2 separate regions of the Homo sapiens genome follow, and region 2 is linked to region 1. Evidence: promoter capture Hi-C in 16 types of primary human blood cells and fetal thymus (Javierre and others, 2016). All regions are on one chromosome and are shown on one strand. Each heading gives the region's core, a stretch centred on a gene start or on the middle of the fragment in contact. The rest is flanking DNA. Distances are from core to core; before and after follow the strand shown.

Region 1 (7,391 bases), core at 2,102-4,601:
TTGTCAGGATTTAAAGGACAGACTTTCTACAAAATTCATGTTTCCATACTCCAGTTAAACTCTTCTCGAATGTCTAACTCCTGAATTATGGTGTCTATTATGGGTTGGATTTTATCCCCTAAAGAAATATGTTGAAATCCTGACCCCAGTACCTGTGAAAGTGACATTATTGGAAATACGGTCTGTGCAGGTGTAATCATGCTTTACAATGAGTTCATAATGGAATAGGCTGAGTCCTTAATATAATATGACTGGTATCCTCATAAGAGAGGAGAAGCACAGGGACACAGACACACAGGAAGAAGACAGCCATGTGACAATGGCAGCAGAGATTAGAGTGATGCATTTCCAAGTCAGAGAATGCCAAGCATTGCCAGCAAACACCAGAAACTAGAAGGGGCTAGGAAGGATTCTCCACTGCAGGTTTTAGAGGGTGCTAACACCTTGATTTTGGACTCTAGCCTCCAGAACTGTGAGATAATAAAATTCTGTTATTTTAAGCCACCCAATTTGTGGCTTTTTGTTACAGCAGCCCTAAGAAAGTGTCCCTCAGACACTTCTTTTATTTTTTATTTTTTATTTTTTTTGAGATGAAGTCTTGCTCTTGCCACCCAGGCTGGAGGGCAATGGCACAATCTCGGCTCACTGCAACCTCCGCCTCCCAGGTTCAAGCAATTCTCCTGCCTCAGCCTCCTGAGTAGCTGGGATTACAGGCATCTGCCACCATGCCCGGCTAATTTTTGTATTTTTAGTAGAAATGGGGTTTTGTATTTTTAGTAGAAATGGGGTTCCGCCATGTTGGCCGGGCTGGTCTCCAGCTCCTGATTTTGTGATCTGCCCACCTCAGCCCCCCAGAGTGCTAGGATTACAGGTGTAAGCCACCATGCCCGGCCCCTCAGACACTTCTTTAAAAAAAAAATTCTTGGGGCTTCTTTGAGAATTCTTATTATTGACCTTGGTTATTCATTCCTGATTTATCTAATTCTGAGATCAGAGAAGTTGATTATTTATATATCTCAGAAAAAACATGTAACTACAATTTATCGTTAAGTTGATTTTATTTTAACGTGAATGTCCCCCAGTAGCAATGCACTAGCACCTGAGCCATGGTTTATAAATGTCAGTCCCCCTAAGAATCCTTTGATGAAATCCTCATTCCAGGTCTGGAATGGAGAAAAAGTGAGCCTGGGACATTTTGTTGGACCAGAAAGCAATGAAGTGCTCAAAGACCAACCAAGACATGTCAAAAAATTACAGGAACCAGCTTGAAAGAGCTCCTGCTACCCTAACTTGGAAGAACTGGAGCAGCAAATAGAATAAAAGAACAATGATAGTAATGGATGATAACACAATGAATTGCCTAAAAAAATCCACAGTCCATGGTGATACTCAAAAGAAAGAGGGAAAAAGAGAGATCTGATAGAAATGTCAACTAATAAATGTGAAAGGAATGATAATATTAGAAAATGATCATTTTGAGATCACATTTCACATCACATCAAAGCTGTGGAATTTCCTCTCTTCTAGGGGGAGCCTTGTGAAGATAAATTTGGTTTAAGCTGGTGGAAGCCATGGATGTGGAACCCACAGAGATGGAGGGCCGACTGTATAAACAATTATTTTACCGAGTTTCCTATGAAGATGAACAAGGGAACTGACTTGTCAAAGCGCACACCAATGAGTAGAGGCAGAACTGGAATCAGAATCCGAGACCTCTCTTGCACCACCCAGCACATGAGGGCTCTCTCCATGGGCATAATCCTCCCTACCTCCTACTTACCTGCCCTGTGCTGTGGGTAATAGATGAATCGCAGTGGTCCCTAACTTTTTTGGCACCAGGGACCAGTTTCATGGAAGACTATTTTTTCACGGATCAAGGGAGAACAGAGAGGGGCGGGGATGGTTTCAGGATGATTTCAGCACACTACATTTATCATTAGATTCTCCTAAGGACTGTGCAACCTGAGCATGATGATTGGGTATTCACGTGCATGTGTGAGATCTGCCACCCTTGAACCTTGTTATGACGTTAGCACATTACCCATCTGACACGAAAAAAAGAAGAAGAAAGAAAAAAAAAGAGGAGTGCGCAACCTAGATCCCTCGCATGCGCAGTTCACAATAAGGTTTGCGCTGTATGAGAATCTAATGCCACTGCTGATCTAACAGGAGGCGGAGCTCAGGCGGTAATGCTTGCTTGCCCGCCACTCAACTCCTGCTGTGCAGCCCGGTTCCTAACAGGCCACAGACCAGTACCGTGGGGACCCCAGGTCTAGTGGACTCCAAGAAAGACATTGGAAGAAGGAAATGGAGAAATGAGCAGACTTCAGAATAGTATCAACAAGCCATGCAGTTAGATAATGTGAAAGTCTACTGGTGAGTCTAAGGGATCTCCCTAGATGTATTTAAGAGTAACCGAATCATTATAAGGAAAGCTGTAAACTGGCAAATTGGACTGAGAAAAATCTGCCAAAATGCAGAAAGAGGATAGTATAAATCCAAGTGCAAACAGAAGGGCACAGATCATTCTGGAATGTAGGTTCCTGGTTGCAAGTATTCCATCAAGCTTTGTTTCCTGATTTGGAGTTTGGAAACATAGTCCCTCTAAGCTTAGATGGAGTTGAATGCAGCATGAGGACTGGACAGTGAGTTTCCAAAAGGGAGAGAGCACAAAAAAAAGAGGCACAAACAAGTTGATCCCGTGACGGAGCCAAATACCAGATTTTGCCTTGACCTCCAGGAAACTTGTGAAACCACTACCTTCTCTTTCCTCTAATTCCATTCATTTCACAACATCCTCTGGGCTTTTGTGTGAAACACTGTGCTTGGTGTTACAGGGATGGAGGGTAACACGGTGTTGGGGGTGGTAACGAGGTGTTGGGGTGATATACAGAATAAATAAACTGAAGGAGGTTCTGCCCTCAAATTTTAGTCTTATAGTAAGAAGCGATTCACACACTGGGCTGTGATTTCATGCCCACTGCTCAGTCTCCTGATTGCTCATCCTGCTTCTCAGCTTAGTCCTGGACAGATGGAGTGTATAATATGGGGTAGTCTGTGTCCATAGTCACTCAAAGATAACTCCTGACTGTGGATTCAAAAATATGCATTATAAACTTTTTTTAATGACCATTTTGGAACCTATGATATTATCAATTCAGGCAGTGGATGCTAAAACTGTAGAGGACCCATATATTCACATGGACTCAAAGTATCACTGCACAAAGGACTTGATAATTGTAAAGGGAGGAGTGGCGAGATATGGCAAACACCTCAACTGAGTGATCACACTCAGTAACATGCTACGTGCCTTCTGGTGTAACAGAAAAAGAGACACAATTTCATAAGTACTGTTTGCGCCAAAAAAGTTTCCCCAAAGGTAATCATGAGAAACCAATCAGACAAATACAGAATATGGTACATTCCACAAGACAACTAGCTTGATCTCTTCAAACAAGTCAATGTCATAAAAGAAAAAAAAAGGTAGGACAACTATTCTATATTAAATGAGACCAAAGACATAACAACCAAATATAATGCATGAATTTGATCGGATCTCAGATTGAGGGAAAAAAAGTTATAAAAAAGGCATTTGAAAGGAAATTTAATACACATTATACATCAGAATCATTGCTAATTTTCTTAGGTGTGATCATGCTGTCGTGGTTAGGGGAACGACATTACTCTCAAGAGATGCACGCTAAATTGAAACGTCACAATGTTTGCAATTTTCAAATGTCAACAATTGGTAAATCTAGATGAAGGATGTACAGGTGCTAATTGTATTATCCTTTCAATTTCCCTGCAGGTTTGAAATTTTTCAGGTAAAACAGAGAGTGGAGACTTGAATGTGGCCTCAACGTTGCTTTTTTTTTTTCCTTCATGATGCTGGGTGTTAAAGCATTATCCTTGTCTTCTTAGACTCTCTTTTCTTTCAAATAAAAAAAACCCACACACCTGGTCTAAGCCAAAGTATTGTTTCCACTGCCTGCAAGTATGCAGGGTTTTCCTTGTAGCAGCTGTCTCACTGGGAGCATTTTCTGTTTCAGCAACTCACATGTTTGACATTATCTCATGGATATATGAAGCTTTAGGAATATGTCACTGTCTCTTTGAAACTTAAAGATGAATCATTCTCTCAATCTCTAGGGGAAAAGATAATGCCATGGATTCCCTCATTGCTGTATAAGAAGGGGCCATGCCCAGCAGATTCCAGTAATGGCCTCTGAAGTTTACAACAGATGCCAAAGTGTGTTGGGAATACCACTGGGCTAAAAATTGGGAATCTCCTGGGGAAAGTTATTTCACCTTTCAAGGCTTCATTTACTTCATCTGTGAAAGAGAATGATTGCAATGAATGCTTTTAAAGTTCCCTTCAAGCACTAATAGTTTATCACTGGAGTTTCTGCTTTCCCAGACATAGCATCATGGCCCAAAAGAGAAAGCAAAGGGTCAGTTCTTCTCCTTGAGCACAGTCTTCAAATTCCTGGATGCTCCAGCGGGGAAGCAGCACCCTCAGCGCTTCCTCTTGTGGCAAAATAAAAACATTTTTAAGCCTAATCCACCACTGCACCTGGCCTACACTTACCTTTTTTCTAGAAACAAATGTGTCAGTTGGCAATTAGTGAAGCCTCAGAAGCAAAATTAATTCCACATGTCCTTAGCACACTATATAAAGAGAGGATCAAAGGACGACAGTCGGTGCAGAATGTGGTTAGCTGCTTCCTGTATTCTCTCCAGCTGAGCATTGTCTGTTGGCTGCAGGACCCCTTGGAAAACTCTGATAGGGCAAAAGGAAAGGAGTTGATGGAAGATTTGGGCAGACATTGCAGAGGAAATGGGCAAACTTTCATTCAGGGTGTGGCCAGAATGGAAAAAGATGAAAAGTTTAAGATGCTGGTAAAAAATGGAGAAGAAAAAACAGGCTAGAAAATAACATTCTGGAGGTAGATTTGTTTCCACATTAAGTTCAACACCCTTACGCTATAATGGTATTTTTCTATCTCTAGAAAAGTCATTTCTATGACTTTTATAACAAATAATGATGCAAAAATATTTAAACTACATTCTTCCCTGGCTAACCATTCAAGCCAAGCAGAGGTCCACAAATTGTGATAGTCTCCAGCATCAAGAAGAACTAACTGCATTCTTTTTTTATTTATTTTACTTTAAGTTCTGGGATACATGTGCAGAACATACAGATTTGTTACATAGGTATAGATGTGCCATGGTGGTTTGCTGTACCCATCAACCCATCATCTAGGTTTTAAGCCCTACATGCATTAGGTATTTGTCCTAATGCTCTCCCTCCCCTTGCCCCCCACCCCCGTACAGGCCCTAGTGTGTGATGTTCCCCTCCCTGTGCCCATGTGTTCTCATTGAAGAACTAACTGCATTCTTTGTGTATGTGTGTGTGTGTGACGGAGTCTCACTTTGTCACCCAGGCTGGAGTGCAGTGGTGCGATCTCGGCTCACTGCAACCTCCACCTCCCAGGTTCAGGTGATTCTCCTACCTCAGCCTCCTGAGTAGCTCGACTACAGGCGTGCGCCACCACGCCCAGCTAATTTTTTGCATTTTTAGTAGAGACAGGGTTTCACCCTGTTAGTCAGGATGGTCTCAATCTCCTGACCTCATGATCCGCCCGCCTTGGCCTCCCAAAGTGCTGGGATTACAGGCGTGAACCACCGTGCCCGGCCGAACTAACTGCATTCTCATGATTTGCTAGTCAAGTTCAGATTTGGCCAGCATGATGACATCCAGAGGTAGGCCTGGTCTACTTCTGAGGACACAGGCCAAATCAAGCCCTCCTGTCTTTCCCATGACTTACACAAGAACACATTTAAACAAAGGAAAAAGAAGAAACATTTCCACTTAAAGAACCCATTAGAATCAATATTGTGAAAATGACCATACTGCCAAAAGCAATCTATAAACTCAATGCAATTCCCATCAAAATATCACCATCATTCTTCACAGAACTAGAAAAAACAATCCTAAAATTCATATGGAACCAAAAAAGAGCTCACTTAGCCAAAGCAAGACTAAGCAAAAAGAACAAATCTGTAGGCATCACATTACCTGACTTCAAACTATATTATAAGGCCATAGTCACCAAAACAGCATGGTACTAGCATAAAAATAGGCACACAGACCAATGAAACAGAATAGAGAACCCAGAAATAAAGCCAAATACTTACAGCCAACTGATCTTTGACAAAGCAAACAAAAACACAAAGTGGGGAAAGGAAACCCTATTCAACAAATGATGCTGGGATAATTGGCTAGCCACATGTAGAAAAATGAAACTGGATCCTCATCTCTCACCTTATACAAAAACCAACTCAAGATGGATCAAGGACTTAAATCTAAGACCTGAAACCATAAAAACTCTAGAAGATTACATTGGAAAACCCCTTCTAGACATTGGCTTAGGGAAAGACTTCATGACCAAGAACCCAAAAGCAAATGCAACAAAAACAAAGATAAATAGATAGGACTTAATTAAACTAAAAAGCTTCTGCACAGCAAAAGAAACAATCATCAGAGTAAACAGACAACCCACAGAGTGGGAGAAAACCTTTGCAATCTAAACATCTGACAAAGGACTAATATCCAGAATCTACAAGGAACTCAAACAAACCAGCCAGAGAAAAACAATCCCGTCAAAAAGTGGGCTAAGGACATGAATAGACAATTCTCAAAAGAAGATATAGAAATGGCCAACAAGCATATGAAAAAATGTTCAACATCACTAATGATCAGGGAAATGCAAATCAAAACCACAATGCGATACCATGTTACTCCCACAAGAACAGTCATAATAAAAAAATCAAAAAATAATAGACTTTGGCGTGGATGTGATGAAAAGAGAACACTTCCACACTGCTGGTAGGAATGTAAACTAGTACAACCACTATGGAAAACAGTGTGGAGATTCCTTAAAGAACTAAAAGTAGAACTACCATTTGATCCAGCAACCCCACTACTGGGTATCTACCCAGAGGAAAAAAAGTCATTATTACAAAAAAGACACTTGCACATGCATGTTTATAGCAACACAATTCGCAATTGCAAAAATACGGAACCAGCCCAAATGCCCATCACAACAAATGGATAAAGAAATTGTGGTGTGTATATATATATACCATGGAATACTACTCAGCCATAAAAAGGAACAAAATAATGGCATTCGCAGAAACCTGGATGGAATTGGAGAGCATTATTCTAAGTGAAGTAACTCAGGAATGGAAAACCAAACATTGTGTGTTCTCACTTATAAGTGGGAGCTAAGCAACGAGGACACAAAGGCATAAGAATGATACAATGGACTTTGGGGACTCAAGGGAAAGGGTGTGGGGGTGAGGGATACAAGACTACATGCTGGATACAG
Region 2 (7,391 bases), core at 1,890-4,389, 270 kb before region 1:
TATGGTATCTACTTCAATTTTATAGTCTCCAAAGCTTTAGGAACACCCGACATGTTTTGGGGCTCTCTGACACAATATTATTCTGCAAAAGTCATAACTGGAGTTTAAAATGTGACTGAATAGTTAAAGGCACTATAGAAAATTTGAACTACAAACATTTATGATAGGTCTTCTATGATCGTGCTTTTATCTGACCGTCCCATGCATCTGATATTTTACTTCTCCTTCCTCAAAGTCCTCTGTTCATTAAACTCACTTTTGTTATAAGTCTAATTAAGACCTATTAAAGTTAAGTTGCTTTGAACATGGGTTTCATAAATATGACTGAGTTTAAAATATCATTACCCAAAAACAACCACCTTTGGCTTTACTCTCAGGCAATCTTAGAATCACAGAATGTTTAAGACACCTTGTAAGGTACCTGACACACAGTAGGTACACAATTACTGCTTTTTAAATGATCATTAACAGCTACCATTTAGTCAGCAAGTACCCATGCCAGACAGGCATTAAGCACTTTGCATATTATCTCTTAATCCTCATAATAACCCCAGTAAGCAGTAATATCTCCATTTTACAGATAAAGAAATTAAAGCTCAAAGTAAATTAACAGCTGCTAATAAAAGGCCGAGAAGGAATCTCAGCTTAGGTCTCTCTCCCACCAGGTCCCTGAAAGACCCCCACTGAGTTTTTCCATAGAGTTTAGGAAGCTGGTCCAGAAGTTTTCTCAGTCTTACTGGCTCTGCCATTTACACCCACATTCTTTACTGTCAAAGGTTGACAACTGACCTGTGCTATGGCCTGTGTGTGCTGGTTCTCCTGGGAAGACCAATGCTATTCCTGAAGCTGGAATAAAGCTTTACAAAAGCATGGAGGTGGGCAGCACGTGACATAAACCACAGCCTCTTTAAAGTGTGGTCACTGCCTTTGGACTCTAGGAAACATACAGTCTCCTTATACGGGGCCTCTCCCCTCTGTCAGCTGCTAAGAAGAGCTTTCCTAGAAGGCATCAGACCCCATTGCAGGCTTATCCTTACCTCGGGAGGAGTTGCCTCAGCTCTAATACCAGAGAAGCCCAGCAGCAGTAACAAGTTTTAGCAAGCATGCTGCTAACCTTCACGACACAGATTCCTGGCAAAGTCACGTTTCGCAAATCTCCACTGCCAGGATATTTCTTGTCCCAGTACTTTCCCTTCACACTTTTTGCTTGAACAAGTATTTCAAGGAAGCCACCGGTTTCAGTGGGGCTCTGGTGCAGAGAGAGAATGCCCAGGAGAATGAATTCCCTCTGCTGGCCCACAATCATTTCTGCACTAACAAGCTCAAATTCTACACACCAAGTATTCCGAGACAATAAACGTCATCTATTAACTGAGTTAACAGGAACCTTTCATTTCAGATTTACAGCTTAACAACAATTATTTCTGAGAGAAAGCAGAGTATAAGCAGCTGGCCAGGCATATAGCCTCAGACCACCCTCCTAGAGCCTCCCCACCCCCAGCTAATTTCTGTGCTTCACCTAGCAGGTGTTATCAGAAAAAAAAAAAAACTGACTAAAATTCAGGGGCTGCAACATTCACGAATTCCAAAGTTGTTAACCGCTGAAATCAAGAGGTTTCCTCCAGTTCTAAAATCCCATTCGCCTCTCCTAAACACAAAATCTCTTCACTGTGGCTGCACTTTGCTTTCTCCGGTCTGTTGGTCCTGGAAGGTCCTTAGTTCAACTCAAGGCCTGGGTGGGGAGGGGAGACCTTTTGTTGCTACAGCCTATTTTTCAGTAGCACAGATGAAGAATGCAACCCCATAGCGATTAAGGCGACTAAGCGCCAAAATACCCTCTCCGGCTTAAATAGCCGATCATGTGGGAACCAAACACTGTTTAAGAAATAAAAGGAGAGGCCAGTAGTGCCGGTCTCCTCTTTCTCCTGGGAGGTTTACCGCTACGGTGGGGGGTTGTCCCTTACAAACCTTGTTTGCAAAGTCCAGGCTCAGATCGGACATTTTGCTTTAACCCCTTGGCTGTGCCCGCCCAACGCAGGAGCCGAGCGGGTCTCGGGTGCGGCCGAGTACTTTGGGGGCTGGGCACATCACTCAGACTTGTTTTCTCAGCTGATCTAGTCCAGCGAACAGGTGTTTGGTTAATTCCCGCCCCCACCCCCATCTTTTTTTTTTTTTTTTTCAAAGGCATGTAAAAGTATCTCCTAAGGAGCGCCCCCGCCTTGCTGAGAAAGTCATGCAGGACACATGGAAAGTGGCTTTCCAACTTGTGCGGGGCGCGCCAGTCTGCGGGGGAGACGGGGTGCACCGTGAGTTTGGGAAAGGCCTAGACCATCCTGGAACTACGCTCCCTGCAAACCCACAGCAGCGCTGCGGTGACCCTGAACGCCACCCCAGCCCCAAACACACACGTGAAGCTCAGCAAAGCGTGCCACCTGCCGGGGTCCCAGCAAACACGCCCGGAGGGAAGAACCGGCGGAAAGCACTTTGTTTAAAACAGAAAAAAAAGTAAACTCTCCCGGGGCCCAGCCTAGCCCTCGGGTTCTCCTCCTTCCCGAGCTGAATGGAGGGAGGCGCCGCGCGGGGCGGGTCAGGGCGGGGAGCCGAGCGCGCTGGGCGCTGGGTGCGCCTCGGCCGGCCCGGGCGCGACCCACGGGCCAACTACTCCCCGGGGCCGGCGGGAACAGGGCGCGCCCTCGCCTCAACTCGCGCGCAGGCCGGCGCCCCAGTGGGGGTGGGAAGGGTCTGGGAACTCACAGCCGCTTGTCCTCGGGCTGCAGTTGCCAGTGCATGGCCAGCGAGAAGCCGAAGAGGCTCCCGGGGTCTCCATATTTCCGGATCACGTTGTCCTCCCGAGTGTCCAAGTTGAAGGCTGCGCCGAGCCGGGACAGGAGCCCCGCCGACAGGTAGAGCAAGCACAGCTGCCCGGCGGCGGCCATGGGCGGACGCACGGGGAGGGGAGCGGGGACCTGCAGCGGCCGCCCTGCGCTCCGGGCTGGGTCCGAGGCTGCCGCGCTGCTGCTACCGCAGCCACCTTCGCCTCCTCTCGCCGCTGCGCCCGGCCCCACCCCCGGGACGGGTCGCGCTCTCCGTCCGGCCGCTCCCCCTCGCGGGCAGCTCGCGACCGCTGAATGAGCCCGTTGTTCTCTGGAGACTCGCAGGCGTTTTATCAAGTGACGAGGACGCCGGCCCCGCCCCTCCCCACCCTCTCGCCCCTCCTTGCGCGCCCGCGGCCCGGCGCACCGCCCGCACCTTACCCGCCGGCTCTGGCGTCTCCAGCTGCCCGGTACCTGCCCGGAAGCCACGACGTGGGAGCCCCGGAGGCGAGCTCGCGGCGAAGCAGCCCCACTGCGCCGCCCTCTGTGGACAGAATTGTGGTTGCCGAGTAGCACAGAGCGAGGGAGACTTTACTACCCGTTATAAAGAGAAGTGCAGGTGATGCACCGGGCCTCATGGCCTGAGCAGCCTGTTCTTGCAGATGTGGGCCCACGTGCAGATGCATACGTCATTCATTCATTTCTACAGGTGTTTATGGAGCGCTTAAGGCGTGCCCAACACTTGGGGACTACAGCTGTGTAGACTGTTCTGGGTCCTCAAACACCTAACAACCCTCAAAAATGATCACAGCGCACACCTTGATAGTGCTGTATAATGTACACAACCCAGCCATTACCTCAATTCATCCTAACAGTCCTATGAGGTAGGTGTTTCTTTTTGCAGATCAGAAAACCGAAGTTCCGCCTTGTCCCCAGATCACCTAGGATTTTGCCCAGGTGACCAGGAGAGCTTGTGGAAGAAGTCACGCAAGTCAAGGATGGGTTGTTTAAAGTGGCGCCAGGAGCTCAGGCGACGATGCCGTTCTTTCCTAGCCCCGGACTTTCAGAACTAGTTGTGGGGAGAACTGCTGGGCCAAGAGACAGCTCCGAGTTCTGTGTAGGTGGCATGAAGGCTCCTGCCTCCAGGACATGAGGCGGGGCTCCAGTGAGGTGTTGGCCCTAGGGGCAACCTTATCCTGCAGGGGTTCTTAACCCGAGGAGAGGTAATTAATTCAAGAGTACTGTGAACTTGGATGAGAAAAAATTTACGTCTTAATTTTCACCAACCTCTGACATTTAGCACGTTTTGCCATTATGAACGTAGACAACAAACTACAGTAGCAGTAGGATAAGTATTTATGACTTAGTAATCACTAGAAACCATAGGTTTTTACATCACATCACAGTTGTTGCAAGTATCTCAAATAACAGTAGTTATTAGACAATCAGCCAGATATTATATGTCAATAATGAAGCATATATATTGCTCTAGCACAAATTTTTAAAAACATTTTGTTAGCTACATTTCAATATTATTGGCTTTTTTTGTAACCTCTTGTGGTTTCTTTTATGTATTTAAAACCCTTATTCTGAGAAGAACCCCATGGTTTTCAGCAGCCTGCCAAAGGGGTCCCATGGCATGAAAAGGTTGGGACGTGCTGGCCTGAAGCCTTCTGGAATGCCTTGGGGAGCCCTCTTTGGAATCTGACATCCCTGCATTGGAAATACAAGCAGGGTGCAGCCCCAGGAAAGAGCAGGAGCTGTGTGTGCATAGGGGTAGGGGTGGCCTCTTCTTCACCTCAAGGAGTATTCAAGAGAACAGCATGTGCCACTCAGAAAAGCTGCGTGAACATCATCAAGGGTCCCCACAGGTGGTAGCAGCTGTCAGAGTAAGTCCGTCAGTATATTAGGGGTGTGTACCACTTCCTTTCCAATCAGTAACTCCAGTCAATTATAGTCCAAAGTGGGGTGCAGTGGTTTAAATTCAGTAGATGATTTTGGAGAGCACACAGTTTTAACAAATATATCTTGATAAGGTTGAGAAACTATTGGAGACAATCTAGTAAACTAAGAAGTACTTGCAACGTGATTTTTCATGCAAATAAGTTGCAAGTTAGCCTTTTCCCTTCGTGTAAAATATGTACTATTCCAGAGAGATGGGGTCCAGACTATTATAGGCATAGTATAATGAACCTCACTGCAGAGTGTACTCAGCCAGGAGCTGGTGATTTGGCTGTAATGGTTACTGAAATATTCTGAATTGGTTGATAAAAGCTGCTGCCCTTAGTTCCTCACAGGCAACCATCCCTGCCCTGCCCATTTTCCTAGGACTAAGCAACTTCCTCACAACCTGGCAAATGAAAGTTTAAGCCCTTAAGCCCTGATGCAGCAAGGGCTCCCTCTGCTTGGATATCCCCATGTCACACCAGCTGTTAACTATTCTGAATATCACCCCTTGCTTCTAAGAGTAATTCTGTGGACCATTGATTCCTGTCTTCCCAAGATGTGTTTAGTGGATGATGTATGAATGGCCAGAGTTATTTACTTTATCCCAAACACAGATTGTGCTCAAATTGAAATTCTAAATAATATTAAATTTAAATATCACAACTACATGTATAGCACTACTGAAGCAAATTATGCTTGTGTGGGAAGAGGTTCAGATAAAGAAAAACAAGGCTGGGAGTCTTGTTCTGGAATATGTCAAGTGCCCATCGCAAATGGAAAACTTATTAGCTCAGTGCTCCTACCTGCCACCTGTCTCCTACCTACTTGAAGTTGAGTCAAACTCTCACTCTCAACATAGATGCCGAAGATACTTGAAGTTGAGTCAAACCCTCACTCTTGACATAATTTATTTGAAGATTGTCAGCTCCTTCTGACTATAACCATCAAGTTTTGGCCAGGCACAGTGGCTCACGCCTATAATCCTGGCACTTTGGGAGGCGAGGTGGGAGGATCACCTGAGGTCAAGGGTTCGAGACCAGCCTGGCCAAAATGGTGAGACTCCCCCCCACCCAACCCCACCACCCCGTCTCTACTAAAAATACAAAAATTAGCTGGGTCTAATGATGGGCACCTCTAATCCCAGCTACTCGGGAGGCCAAGGCTCAAGACTCACTTGAAATGGGGAGACAGAGGTTGCAGTAAGCCAAGATTGCACCACTGCACTCCAGACTAGGTGACAGAGCAAGACTCTGACTCAAAAAAAAAAAAGAATCAAGTTTTGTGACTCAGTTGTTATTTCCATTGTAAAACAGAGTTGGGTGTTTTACAAAAGTGTCTTACAAAAAGGAGGTTTAGAGGTCATTCTGGATCCACTGAGGACACATCAATCTCTGGGGCCAAAGGAATAAAAGAATTCAGAGCCCTAAAAATTAAAGACCTGGGGAGGGAGTACACAGTTTTAATGGGGAAAACAAAATCTGGGACAGGAAGATACTTGTCTGGAACCAAAGGGAGAGAGATAGCTTGGTGATAAAGGTGTGCTGAGTATATAGGGCATGGGGCATGTGTGTGTGTGTGCTAGCACACATGCCTATGAAAACAAGACATGCACAGTGCAAGAAGGGCCCTACAAATCCAGTTAACTGGCAGAACCGTGTCTAAAAAAAAAAAAAAAGGGCCGATTAGAAAACGAAATAACACATCACAGAAGAAACTTCTATAAACTGAACATTTTTAATTAAAAGGCAGTGAAAGCTATGCATAGAGGCATTTGCTCAGGTGAGAGCTTTTGAATTCTTATGTTTTACCAGTACACTTTTCAAAATAAAATTATTTATTTGTACTATATCCCACCCTCTGTAGAAGAGCTTTCAAGATAATTTTAGAATATTGGTCATTTATGGAGAAGTCTGAAGAATCCATGTCATACCTAATATATTTTCCATTCCCTGAGACCTACTTTAATCATTTTGTTATCATGTTCACTGTTATATTGACTTCATCATCACTAACAGCAGAGAATATATTTGCTTTTTTCATGCAACATAAAAACTAGTTATTAGGCCGGACGTGGTGGCTCATGCCTGTAATCCCAGCACTTCTGGAGGCTGAGGCAGGCAGATCACCTGAAGTCAGGAGTTCGAGACCAGCCTGGCCAACTTGGCGAAACCCCATCTCTACTAAAAATACAAAAATGAGCCGGGCGTGGTGGAGGTGCCGTAATTTCAGCTACTCAGGATGCTGAGGCAGGAGAATCGCTTGAACCCGGGAGGCAGAGGTTGCATTGAGCCGAGATTGCACCACTGCACTCCAGCCTGGGCAACAGAGCAAGACTCCGTCTCAAGAAACTAGTTAATGAAAACATCTCTTTATTCTCTTTCTGTGGTTACATTATCCCAACAGTTTTACATATTTCCTGGAGCCCTTTAATGTGAGGCCATCCATGAGAGTGGGTAGCACATGGTCTCTGGAACCCAAGTTCCTTATTACGGATCCTGCCTCTGCTCCACGCTAGCCACAAGGCCATTTAATCTCTCCATGTCTCCGTTTTCCCAGCTGTAAACCGGAAATAACAACATGTCATCTACCCCTCAGTAGTTGCTTTCTCTTAAGAATTAGTAGAGTTGATGT

The links. The method cuts DNA at HindIII sites, captures the fragments that hold promoters and counts their contacts. A CHiCAGO score of 5 or more calls a contact.
Region 2: the fragment with the promoter of ITGA6 here is called in contact with a fragment that was not itself captured in region 1 in 14 of 17 cell types (megakaryocytes, naive CD4 T cells, non-activated CD4 T cells and 11 more); the score reaches 13.5 in megakaryocytes.

Annotation. Positions count from the first base shown.
Region 1 is chr2:172,150,689-172,158,079 of GRCh38, reverse strand. It overlaps LOC105373741 (a long non-coding RNA gene), which reads right to left. Exons shown (of 3, transcript XR_923580.2): 3 at 4,589-4,780. It also overlaps the pseudogene LOC124906157. Among named protein-coding and RNA genes, the nearest start is that of DLX2-DT, 51 kb to the right of the region's middle. The HindIII fragment of the contact is 1,479 bases long and covers 2,612-4,090 here.
Region 2 is chr2:172,423,334-172,430,724 of GRCh38, reverse strand. ITGA6 (integrin subunit alpha 6) reads right to left here and starts at 3,139. Exons shown (of 26, transcript NM_000210.4): 1 at 2,755-3,139. The coding sequence starts at 2,936. RefSeq lists enhancers at 1-402, 1,827-2,327 and a silencer at 3,112-3,191. The HindIII fragment of the contact is 11,901 bases long and covers 860-7,391 here.